4 separate regions of the Homo sapiens genome follow, and regions 1, 2 and 3 are each linked to region 4. The links are contacts of gene promoters, found by promoter capture Hi-C in human tissues and cell types (Jung and others, 2019). All regions are on one chromosome and are shown on one strand. Each heading gives the region's core, a stretch centred on a gene start or on the middle of the fragment in contact. The rest is flanking DNA. Distances are from core to core; before and after follow the strand shown.

The links. Contacts are between HindIII fragments. The study calls those that stand out against the background at their distance.
Region 1: a contact is called between a fragment that was not itself captured here and the fragment with the promoter of UBE2N in region 4, in 1 of the 25 tissues and cell types used here (pancreas).
Region 2: a fragment that was not itself captured here is called in contact with the fragment with the promoter of UBE2N in region 4 in 1 of the 25 tissues and cell types used here (psoas muscle).
Region 3: a contact is called between a fragment that was not itself captured here and the fragment with the promoter of UBE2N in region 4, in 1 of the 25 tissues and cell types used here (aorta).

Annotation. Positions count from the first base shown.
Region 1 is chr12:92,810,161-92,812,930 of GRCh38, reverse strand. It overlaps EEA1 (early endosome antigen 1), which reads left to right. Exons shown (of 29, transcript NM_003566.4): 17 at 1,497-1,652. Among named protein-coding and RNA genes, the nearest start is that of PLEKHG7, 110 kb to the right of the region's middle. The HindIII fragment of the contact is 3,829 bases long and covers 1-2,770 here.
Region 2 is chr12:92,827,775-92,830,987 of GRCh38, reverse strand. EEA1 (early endosome antigen 1) reads left to right here. Exons shown (of 29, transcript NM_003566.4): 12 at 2,927-3,076. Among named protein-coding and RNA genes, the nearest start is that of EEA1, 100 kb to the left of the region's middle. The HindIII fragment of the contact is 8,478 bases long and covers 1-3,213 here.
Region 3 is chr12:92,882,163-92,885,070 of GRCh38, reverse strand. The region is part of intron 2 of EEA1 (early endosome antigen 1); the gene reads left to right. It also overlaps the pseudogene HNRNPA1P50. Among named protein-coding and RNA genes, the nearest start is that of EEA1, 46 kb to the left of the region's middle. The HindIII fragment of the contact is 3,784 bases long and covers 1-2,908 here.
Region 4 is chr12:93,440,670-93,443,762 of GRCh38, reverse strand. UBE2N (ubiquitin conjugating enzyme E2 N) reads left to right here and starts at 1,816. Exons shown (of 4, transcript NM_003348.4): 1 at 1,816-1,908. The coding sequence starts at 1,879. RefSeq lists silencers at 1,411-1,870, 1,951-2,160, 2,311-2,450, 2,481-2,600 and an enhancer at 1,281-1,918. The HindIII fragment of the contact is 20,755 bases long and covers 1-3,093 here.

The DNA.
Region 1 (2,770 bases), core at 38-2,537, 630 kb after region 4:
AAATAAATTGCAAACATGTAAAGATGATACCCAGTTTTGTATAATCTTGTGATAGACTTGCTTATCCCCCTTAATTTCTCCATGAGTTCCAGTTGAGTAGTAAAAGTGGGGGTCACATAGATGGAGATAAAAATAACAGCTTTGTTTTTGATAAATTTCTACTAGTGTGCAGGTGTGGTTGGTTTCCTGATATTGTCCTTCTCCCCTAGCCTAGACCTTGGTGTAGAGCAGTAATGTTTCCTCCTAACTTTTGAATTGTTGCCCCATCCCTTCAAGTGTTGGTGATTGGATGGGGCAGACCACCACATTTGTTTTTAGTAGGTAGACTGGACCATGACCCAAATGTACTTGCCACTTGGAAACAGGAAAAGAACACTGTATATTCTACCTCAGTTATAAGAGTTACTCCTTTCTTGGTAATAGGAGGAAGTGAGGAGCTGGAGGGAATACAGAAGCGATACTCTGGTAGAATAGAAGCATCCTACTTTAGGGTCACGGTGAATGTTGCTGGTAGATTTTTCTTAGCTTTTACTGGTAGAAATTTTTAAAATTTACTTGTTATTCAGGGAGTAATATTAGTTATTGGTCTTTTTTTTTTTTAGATGGAGTTTTTTGCTCTTGTTACCCAGGTTGGAGCGCAATGGTGTAATCTTGGCTCACTGAAACCTCCACCTGCCGGGTTCAAGCAATTCTCCTGCCTCAGCCTCCCAAGTAGCTGGGATTACAAGCATGTGCCACCGTGCCTGGCTAATTTTGTATTTTTAGTAGAGACAGGGTTTCACCATGTTGGTCAGGCTGGTCTCAAACTCCGACTTCAGGTGATTCACCCACCTTGGCCTCCCAAAGTGCTGGGATTATAGGTGTGAGCCACCGCACCTGGCTTTATTGGTCCATTTTTTAAAAAACAATACAGAAGTATATCAAGTTAAAAAACAGAACAAAACAGTTTTCTATATTTACCCTTTATGAAAAGCCCATTTGAATGGAATGTTTGCTGTTAAATTTGGTATGTGTCCTACTTTTGGTACATAGTAGATTTACTAGTAATTTTTATTTTATTTTTTTTTTTTTGTGCAACTGGATATTCCAAATGAATTGAAAAGCATCATAAATGTAAACACTGTAATATTTTTAAAAAATAGTTTTAAAAATTGGTGTCTTGAACATTGAAAATATTTAATTATAATATAAAAGTGTTATTTTATTATTAGCCTGGCTAATATTTGGCTCCTAAAATAATTCTTCCTAGATAAACATTGAAAAGTTATTAAACTGTTATACATATAAACTTAGGATCTCAGACTATGCAAGAATTTAGTTCATGTCGTTTATATTGGTAGGTAAGTATAGCCTCTGATATATCATTAGATTTATCTGAGCTCTTACTCCAAATATTTTTTTAAATAAAATTAGAGTTTTCAATTTTACGTTGAACATTTGGCCACTACAATATAGTAAACCTTACCAAAGTTTTCTTCAATTGTACTTTTCTAAAGGAGTTAAATAAGATTACTACTCAGTTGGATCAGGTCACTGCAAAGTTACAAGACAAGCAAGAACATTGCAGTCAGCTGGAAAGTCATCTTAAAGAATATAAAGAGAAATACCTCTCTTTAGAACAGAAAACCGAAGAGCTAGAAGGTCAAATTAAGGTTTGTATAAAAGAAGTTGAATTTAGTCATATTTTCTACTTCAGTAGCAATGGAATCTCATGACCTACATGGAATCAAAGATTTTTAGTTAACAAAGAAAGGTGAAGTTGTGGTATAAAATTTTTAAAAAATTGCTTGTAATTTTTCATGTCTTAAGTTTGAATTCTATCTTTATTTTTAATGTCTCCCTTAATGAGCATCTTTTATAAATGACAGTCAACTTACATACTGATTCCATTGTAATGTGTTACTTTTTCCAAAGACAGATAACCAGGTATCTACTCTACCATTACAAGGAACTTCTCAATTTTTTGTTGTGAAGTCTCTTCTGTTCCTTCATTCTTCCATCTCTTACCAACTTACTCCAATATCACATTTCAGATATGGTAGACTTTTCCTTTTTAGAACTTTATACCCTTTGGATTTTGCTTCTAATTTAAAAACACATTGAGACTATGATAAACTGTATCTTACTTTAACACAACTCCATATGAATGTGTTGATTTACTGAAGAGATAAGATGATTAGACATCTCAGAAGGATTTGACCTGAGTTTTTGTGTCCTTCAAATTAGAACCGCTTGCTGCTTAACTGCCTTTGGCTAAAAATAAAAAAAAAAAAAATTTTTAAAAATTGAGCTACTATCAGTTAAACAAAAACTTCTCAAGTTACTATATATGTAACTTATACTTCCTCAACCCGGTGAAGCGTGTGTGTATAAGTTTAGAGTCATGAAATGAATATATGTACATACATACCAATATAGTATGGGGGAATAATTACATTTACAATTCTGTTTATAGGTTCCTTTTTCTTTATGACAAACGATAATAGCAAAGGCAAGGTACTTTAGGCATGGTTAAAAATAACAGAAGTATTATTTTACTGAAAAGTGTCTAATGAGAATTCTTTTTGGGTACCTATTAAAAATAGTGGTTATTTAGAACTGAGTTTTTATTGTGATTATCAGCTCTAACACTTTGTAATTATCATTTTAGGGAGTATCATATTTTTTATATAGACATGTATAATTAATTTAGCTACATCAAATATCTTTTATTTAATGAATATTTTCAGTGTAGGTCAATGGTAAGGGCTACAGATACCAATCAGTTTAT
Region 2 (3,213 bases), core at 541-3,040, 610 kb after region 4:
TCTGTAACATGTCTTCTCCTTCCCTGCTTCTGCTGGCCCTGTCCTCCTTGTCTCACTCTTAAACCACTGTAACAACCGTTAACTGATCTGCCTTCCTTCTTGCCCCTGACAAATTGATTCTTTATATAGGCATCAGAGTAATCTATATTAAAGGCAAATCTTACCATGTTCCAACCATGCTTTAAGCCCATTAATAACTCTTTATGGCCTAATGGATTAAGTTGAGGTCCCTTGTTATGACATGCACTATCCATAGTGATCTTGTTGGCTCACCTCCTCAGCAATTTACCCTTCTTTTCCTTATTCTTCACTGCAAGAATATGGAAGTGTCTTTAGTTTTTTCCTACATGTGTGCTGTGTCTTGCTTTTGTTGTATCATTCAGTCTGTCTTCTTGACCTGAAATATTCTTTTTATTCCTCTTCACCTTGATAGATACTATTTACTTCACTTGTCACTTTTTATAATTTTTTTTTTTAGGGAACAAGATCATGCTCCTTATAGCAATGTGGATGGAGCTGGAGGCCATTGTCCTAAGCGAGCTAATATAGGAACAGAAAATCAAATACCACATGTTCTCACTTAAAAGTGGGAGCTAAATATTAAATACATATGGACACAAAGAAGGGAACAACAGACAGCCAGACCTGCTTGAGGGTGGAAGGTGGGAGGAGGGTGAGGATCGAAAAACTGCCTATTGGGTACTATGTTTATTACCTAGGTAATGAAATAATCTGTACACCAAACCCCTGTGACACGTAATTTACCTATATAACAAACCTGCACATGTATCCCTGAACCTAAAATAAAAGTTAAATATTTGAAAAAATTTAAAAAATATATTTAGGGGGTAAAAGTGCAGATTTCTTGCATGTATGTGTTGTGTAATGTTGAAGTCTGGACTGTTAGTGTACCCATTGCCCGTATAGTAACCATTGTACCCAACAGGTAATTTTTCAACCCTCACCCGCCCCCCCCACACTCTCCCTAAAAATCCTTTCTAAACATGCCACTGCTTCCCCACACCCAAGATAGCTTAAGCATGTACATATCTTTAATATTTTACTTATACCATAATATAGTTTATTATCATAATTTATGTCTTTCTTTAATAGACTCTGAACTCTTCGGGTGCAAAGACCATCTCTTACTCATTTTTTATTTTTACTGCCTGGCATTTGGCTTGTTTTTTGTTTTTTTTTTTTTTTTTTAAGACAGAGTTTCACTTTGTCACCCAGGCTGGAGTGCAGTGGCATGATCTCGGCTCATTGCAACCTCCATTTTCCGGGTCCAAGCAATTCTCGTGCCTCAGCCTCCTGAGTAGCCGGGACTTCAGGCACATGCTACCACACCTGACTGACTTTCTGTATTTCAGTAGATATGGGGTTTCACCATGTTGCCCAGGCTGGTCTCGAACTCTTGAGCTCAGACAGTCCACCCTCCTCAGCCTCCCAAAGTGCTAGGATTACAGGCATGAGCCACCGCGCCCAGCCAGCATTTTGCTTGTTAATCTGCCTATGTTTTAGTGAGTGAATGAATGAATAAATATAAGCATTCATAGTGGAAGGAAACTGAGCCATGGGGATATCAATGAATAACTTAAACTAACTTACATATTTGAGTTTTAGTTCAGATAAACAAATTTAGCATTTATGCTTTCTTTTTTTCTTTTTCTTTTCTTTTGAGATGGAATCTCACTTTGTTGCCTAGGCTGGAGTGCAGTGGCGAGATTTCAGCTCACTGCAACCTCTGCCGCCCGGGTTCAAGCGATTCTCCTGCCACAGCCTCCTGAGTAGCTGGGATTACAGGCCTGAGCCACTGTGCCTGGCTGCGTTTATGCTTTCTAAAAGACACATCCCTCATTTACTAGGGGATACATAAATGAGTAAGAGACAGTACCTACCTTTAATAATTGTGTAAATATCATGGAGAGGATAAGGCAAGTACTATCTATCATACCAAAGATTATGAGAATTATAATAAAAGGATTCTGTATATTATGGGAAATTGGAAGAGTTTCTTTCTTTTGTTCCCCCTCTTAGTACTTCAGCTGTTGTAATTTTTAATCCATTTATGTGATCAGGAAATCTTTGTGTTAGAGAGAGGAGGTGGTACTTGGAATTGGGAATATCGGATAGGTTTTGACAGGTGGCAGTTCGAAAGCAGATGTGTCTCACAGCCAGAGGGATTAGTGAGAGCGAACTAGTGGCAGGAAAGTGTTGTAAGAGGTAGGAAGGAACACTGATTTGCTGTTAGGATAGGGTATGTATAACAGGGTGGACTACTCGTGATGGTTCTTAACTCCCTTAGTTTTAATTGGGTGGCATTTGTAAAGTTAATGAATGAGGGTCACCATATATATATATATATGATATATATATGTACACATATATATATCTATATATATGATCATTTCCTGTATTTTATTTAGAAATTATGTGCCAGTATGAGGACTTGGGAATGCACTGGGCACTATCCAATACCCAAATGTAAAAAGTTAACTGTAGTAGTTCTTGGCTATGGAAAACCAACAAGAATCACTGTGGAACTTTAAACAATACTGTAAAATAGATCTGAGTGTGTACTAAGTGTCTTAATTTTTAAGTTGTATTTTATTCTTTTAAGTTCCTGAAAGTTCCAACACTTATATCCAAACAAGAACCTGCATTTGTTTTAAGAGAGCAGTAACATAACACAAAAACAAAAATTGTGATGTTTAACGATAATTTTATGTGATTCATTATAATATATGATTAAAATTCAGTTGCAGTTAAAATTACTGTATAAAATCTTAGGTTTCCCCAAAGTATCACGAAAATTAAGATATTGTACTTATTTTGGTGAAAAGTAAAACATTGTTTGGAAAGTAGGTGGTGCTGTGTGTGTGTTTGTACATATGTACATACATTTTTTTTTCTTTTTTTAAAGTTACATAGCAAACTTCTGGAGACAGAGCGCCAACTAGGGGAAGCTCATGGTAGGCTGAAGGAACAGAGACAGCTTTCAAGTGAAAAGTTGATGGATAAAGAACAACAAGTGGCTGATTTACAACTCAAACTTTCTCGGTTAGAAGAGCAGGTAAGCTAGCATTTTCAATTTATTGATAGGCTTGAGGCATCTTTAACATGATTATGATTCATCAATCTGTTAATTGTCAAAGCTTTAATTGGACTTTTTAAAGTGCAAATTTATTGCTCTCCAATAGCAACATCTTG
Region 3 (2,908 bases), core at 284-2,783, 560 kb after region 4:
TTATATACAGTATTCTTTTTTCTTTGCACATTAAAAAAAGACATTTATTCTGCATCATGATCAGACTTACATTTAGCAATCAACAGCATGTTTGCAAAAAAAAAAAAAAATCTACATTGAAACCCTTTGTTGGAATGCTTTACACTTTCCACAGAACAGAAACTAAAATGACTTGTTATACAATTAGTCACAAATACAGTCCTCGAGTTTTTTGCCCATACCCATGAGTATTTGTCTAAAACAGGTCTTCTTTGTAGCAGCTAGGCCCTGCCACCACTGTGCTTGGCTGAGTTCACAATCTGTTGTAACCTGTAGCTTCCCTGTCACTTCTCTGGCTCTCCTCTCCTGCTAAGCTTTGTTTCCTAATTAAAATCTTCTGCCATTGCCATAGCTACTGCTGCTACTGGAACCACCATAGCCACCTTGGTTTCATGGTTTGGCAAAGTATTGGCCTCCACCACCATAGGGGCCAGGGCTTCTGCCTCCAAAGTTTCCTCCCTTCATGGGTCCAAAATTTGAAGACTGATTGTTGTAATTGCCAAAATCATTGTAGCTTCCACCACCTCCAAAATTGCTTCCATCATTACCAAATCCATTATAGCCATCCCCACTGCCACCATATCCACCACCACCACTGAAGTTTCCTCCACTACCAGTGTTGTCATTCCTGCCAAAACCACCTCCACGACCACCGCCAAAGTTTCTAGAACCACTTCAGCCTCTTTGGCTGGATAAAGCCCTAGCCATCTCTTGCTTTGACAGGGCTTTCCTAACTTCACAGTTGTGGCCATTCACAGTATGGTATTTCTGAATGACAGTCTTATCCACGGAGTCATGGTCGTCAAAGGTTACAAAGGCAAAGCCCCTTTTCTTGGCACTGCCTCAGTGAGTCATGATTTGAGTCACTTCAATTTTTCCATACTGTTCAAAATAATCTCTTAGGTGTTGTTCTTCATTGTTTAATGCCACCAACAAATATCTTTTTCATAGTTAAGTGGGCACCTGGTCTTTGAGAATCTTCTCTTGAGACAGCTCTCTTTGGTTCCACAACTCTTCCATCCACCTTATGTGGCCTTGCATTCATGGCTGCATCCACCTCCTCCACAGTGGCATGTGTGATGAACCCAAAGCCCCTGGAGTGCTCTGTGTTTGGATCTCTCATTACCACACAGTCCGTGAGCGTTCCCCATTGCTCAAAATGGCTCCTCAGGCTCTCATCGGTTGTTTTAAAGCTCAACCCTCCAATGAAGAGCTTCCTCAGCTGTTCGGGCTCTTTAGGAGACTCTGACTTAGACATGACGGAAGGGAGAAGAGAGACTTTAACGATGCTTCTTCAGTGGCGTCCGCGGGCAGAAAAGAACAAGCTGATGAACGTGTCTCACTGTATTCTTACGATAAAGTAAGATAGAGAAAAGAAAATATTATTAAGAAAATCATGTGGCTTATGCAGAAAAATGAAACTGGATTCCCTACCTTTCACCATATAAAAAATTTAGCTCAAAATAGATTAAAGATTTAAATGTAAGACCTTAAACTATAAGAATTTTAGAAGAAAACCTAGGAAACATCATTCTGGACATTAGTGTCGGGAGAGAATTTATAACTAAGTCCTCAAAAGCAATTGCAACAAAATCAAAAATTGACAAGCCGGACTAATTAAAGAGCCTCTGCACAGTGAAAGAAACTATCGACAGAGTTAAGAGATAGCCTGCAGAATGGGAGAAAATATTTGCAAACTGTGCAGCCAAGTTTGCAGATATCAAAGGTCTAATATCCAGAATCTGTAAGAAACTTAAACAATTGAACAAGCAAAAAGCCCCATTAAAAAATGGTCAAAAGACACGAACAGACACTTCTCAGAAGACATACAAATGGCCAAGAAACGTGACAAAATGGTCCATATCTCTAATCATCAGAGAAATGCAAATCAAAACCGCAATGAGATACCATCTCACACCAGTTAGAATGGCTGTTATTAAAATATTAAAAAACAAATGTTGGTGAGGCTGCAGAGAAAAGAGAATGCTTATACATTGCTGGTGGGAATGTAAATTAGTTCAGCCACTGTGGAAAGCAGTTTCGAGATTTAAAGAACTTAAAACAGGACTACCATTCAACCCAGTAATCCATTACTGAGTATATATCTGAACAAAACAAACTGTTCTACCAAAAAGACATGCGCATTTGTATGTTCATTACAGCACTATTCACAATAGCAAATAAATGGAATCGGACTATGTGCCCATCAATGGTGGATTGGATAAAAAAAAGAAATGGTACATATATACCACAGAATACCACACAGGCATAAAAATAACAAAATCATATTCTTTGTAGGAATACTGATGCAGCTAGAGGCTATTATCCCAAGCAAATTAACACAGGAACAGAAAACCAGATACTGCTTGTTCTCACTTATAAATGGGAGCTAAACATTGGGTACTCATGGACATAAAGATGGCAACAACAGAAACTGGAGACTACTAGAATGAGAAGGGAAGGGGGTGGGCAGTGGTTGAAAATCCGACTGTTGGGTACTATACTTAGTACCTGGGTGACAAGATCATTTGTACCCCAAAGCTCAGCATCATGCAATATACCCAGGTAACAAACCTGCACATACACCCTCTGAATCTAAAATAAAAGTGGAAAAAAAAAAAAAGATGCCAGGTACGGTGACTCATGCCTGTAATCCTGCACTTTGGGAGGCCGAGGCGGGCAGATCACCTGAGGTCAGGAGTTTGAGACCAGCCTGGCCAACGTGATGAAACCATGTTTCTACTAAAAATACAAAAATTAGCCAGTCATGGTGGCACGTGACTGTAATCCCAGCTACTCAGGAGGCTGAGGCAGGAGAATCACTTGAACTCAGGAGGCAGAGGTTGCAGTGAGCTGAGATCACTCCACT
Region 4 (3,093 bases), core at 567-3,066:
CATGGAAGCCAATCTTCTGGTTGCACAGGCTGATGCAGCACAAGCAGAGTGTGCCTTCCTGCCAAGCCCTGCCCAGACTGCAGACCTACACACTCCCAACACAATAGCACTCTGCCTTTCTGCCTACCAGCATGAATTATCCTGGGTCCTCTATAAAATATTCTGAAAAGTATCTTTGTCCAGTTTCATTTACTTTTGCAGATTCTTCTAGTCACAGAACCACCTATTGCAGACTTCTGGTTATTTGAAATTCTCATTATTACCTCTGAACCTTGGCTTCTCATCTAAAACGTTCTGTTAATAATAGAGACTACTTCATCTGTTTCATAATTGAATGATGTATTAAATTTATTAACCATTTAGCATCGTGCCAGCACAAAATATTTCTTATTGTTCTTAGTAGGTTTCTTGTATTCAGAGTTCCAGTTTCTTTAGTGCACTATTTTTTCTCTCTCATAGCTCAATGCCATTTCACAGGCCATTTCCTATGCTTGGCATACTCTTCCCTACAAGGTCAGGTAGGTTCTTACTCATCATTGAGGACTTCACTTATTTAAGAAGGCTTCCCTGAGTTCTCAAGCAGTTAATGCCTCTCTGCTAAAATAGCACCTTGGAGGAACCTGTATTACAGACAGCCCTTAACACATTGGATTGTAACTAATTGTTTACTGGTCTCTCTTCTCCATTGGAATCTAAGTTCCTGGAAGGCACGGTCAGTCTTGTCTTCATTTATTCACCATCTACTGTCTGTTAGTGTGCTAGGAAACACTGTGGTTAAGTAGTTAAGGGCCAGGTCTTGGCGGATCTGCCTGGGGACAAAACAGCTCCTTGGAAAAGGTTAACTATCTAAGCCTCATTTGTAAAATGGAAACAACACCTCCTCACGATTGCTGTGAAGATGAAGTAAAGTGCTTGCAAACAGTCCATCACACAGCAAACCATCCGTCATCAGGATAAAACGCTTCCCCAACAATTCAATTTTCGGGCACCCCCACTCTAATTCTCTCATAGGACCTCGCACTCTATAGGTAATCTCTGCTTTACGGATTACTCTGGGTTCTTTAAACCTCTCCTTGGTCATTCGTCCTGTTAACAATTCTGAGTCTCAACCTTTAGGTCTAGGCGTTCAGAACCATTCTTCCCGCCTCCAACTCGCTCCAAACCCTTTTCCTTCAGCCTACCCTGGGCCTAGGGGCGTGTCAGAGGTCCGATTTATACAATTTAAACATCAAAACTCCCCCAACAGCGTGTGAGTAACTGGAGAGACCCCCAGTCAGAGCTTTGCCACCGAGTTTCGGTCTTGCCCTCCCTTTGAGGAAGGAGCAAGACGATGAGCCCCACCTCAGTCGTTCACTGCAGAGCCAGCAGGGAACGCGCGCAATGCAGGCTGAGCTGAAAGAACGAACGCGTGAGCTGAAAGAACGAACGCGTGAATGAATGAATGGGATACGTCGTAGGCCAGGCCTCTGTTACGTCGTCCACCGGCGCGGGCGTGGCCACGGTTAAGAGAGACGCGCGCGCAGTCGCGCGCGGGTCGTGCCGTACCACCGTCGCGGGCAGGCTCGGCCACGAGCGCCAGAGCCCCGCGCCTCCCCTCGCGGCCTGTCCCAAGTCCCTGCCCCGCAACAGAGCGTCACTTCCGCCATCCCCGGCAGCGGTTGGGGCGGGGCGCACGGGGGAGGGGGCCAGGTCGGAGGGAAGCCCGCCCGTGCCCGAGCCCGCGCCCGAGCAGGGACTACATTTCCCGAGGGGCCTCGGCGGCGGCTGCGGCGACGGGCGCGGCAACGTCCCCCGGAAGTGGAGCCCGGGACTTCCACTCGTGCGTGAGGCGAGAGGAGCCGGAGACGAGACCAGAGGCCGAACTCGGGTTCTGACAAGATGGCCGGGCTGCCCCGCAGGATCATCAAGGTAACCGCCCAGGCCGGCCTCCAGCTCTTCGCTCTGCTCTCGTCGGCTCAGCTGGGCAGGCAGCGCGGCCTCTCGCCTCCTTCGGCCCGCGGCCCGCTCTGGGAGGCCCGAGGCGGCGCGGAGAGGGGTTGGCCGCGGCGGCGAGGGAAGTCGGGTGCTGAGGAGGGGGCGCCGGGGAGACTTCCGGCCGCGGCGGGGCAGCCGGACAGCGGGGACCCGGGGCTTCCAGGCGGCTGCCCGGCGGGCCAGGGAGTGCTGTCCCACGCCCCGGCGGAGGGTGGGGCGGCAAGGCTGGGGGTCTCTGGGCTTGGGCGCGGGCCTCCATAGCTTCTGAGACCACCCCCCCGCCGGAGGCCGCGGGCGCGCGGGAATCGCGGCGGGGCTCGGGCGCCTGGTGGGGATTGTGGCCCGACAAGGTCCCTCGGCAGCCAAGCCCCTCTTCTCCGCCCCGACGGGGCCGCGGAGGTGCGGCAACCGCGGGTGCAGAATGAATGAACCGGGAGGGTCAGGCCGGGCGGGGCCCTGCGCCCCGGGAAGTGGCTCTGGGAGGCCCGCGCGTCCTGCCGCGGTCAGCACATGCTCGCCCCTGGTTGCCGCGGCTGCCTGGGTCCCGGGACGTGGGGGCCCCGCGCCCCGCTGCCCTTGCTTCCGCGATCTCTCTCTTCTGAATACGTTTCCGCTCGTTTATCTCTGCGAAGTGATTTTACTCTGGTTGGCAAACTCTTTCAGAGCTGTTCCGAGGAAATAGTTTTAACACAAGGCTGGGGGAGGGCCGCAGTTATGGGGGATTCTCTTTCTCTCTCCTCTTCTCTCCTCTCCTCTCTTTTTCGTAGATATGAGGCCTCGCTATAGTGCCCAGGCGGCTTCCAAAACTCCTGGCTTCAGAGATCTTCCTACCTTGGCCTCTGTGGGGGATCTCGTGAAATCTTTTGCCCCTCAATTTTGTGCGTTTTAATTATTAATTGGCTGTTTATGAATACTGTGTTTTGACAAGTATGTATGGAACCATGACATTTTCGATTCTTTGATTTTGTAAAGTCTTAAGGAAATATCGACAAGTCTTCAGACGTGAGATATTCCTTGTCATCACAACAACTAAACCTTAAATTTTTGTGTCGGTTTTTATGAAGGAAATTAGTTGCACATTTATGTGACTAAATGCGCCAGTTAAAGTGACTCAATTGC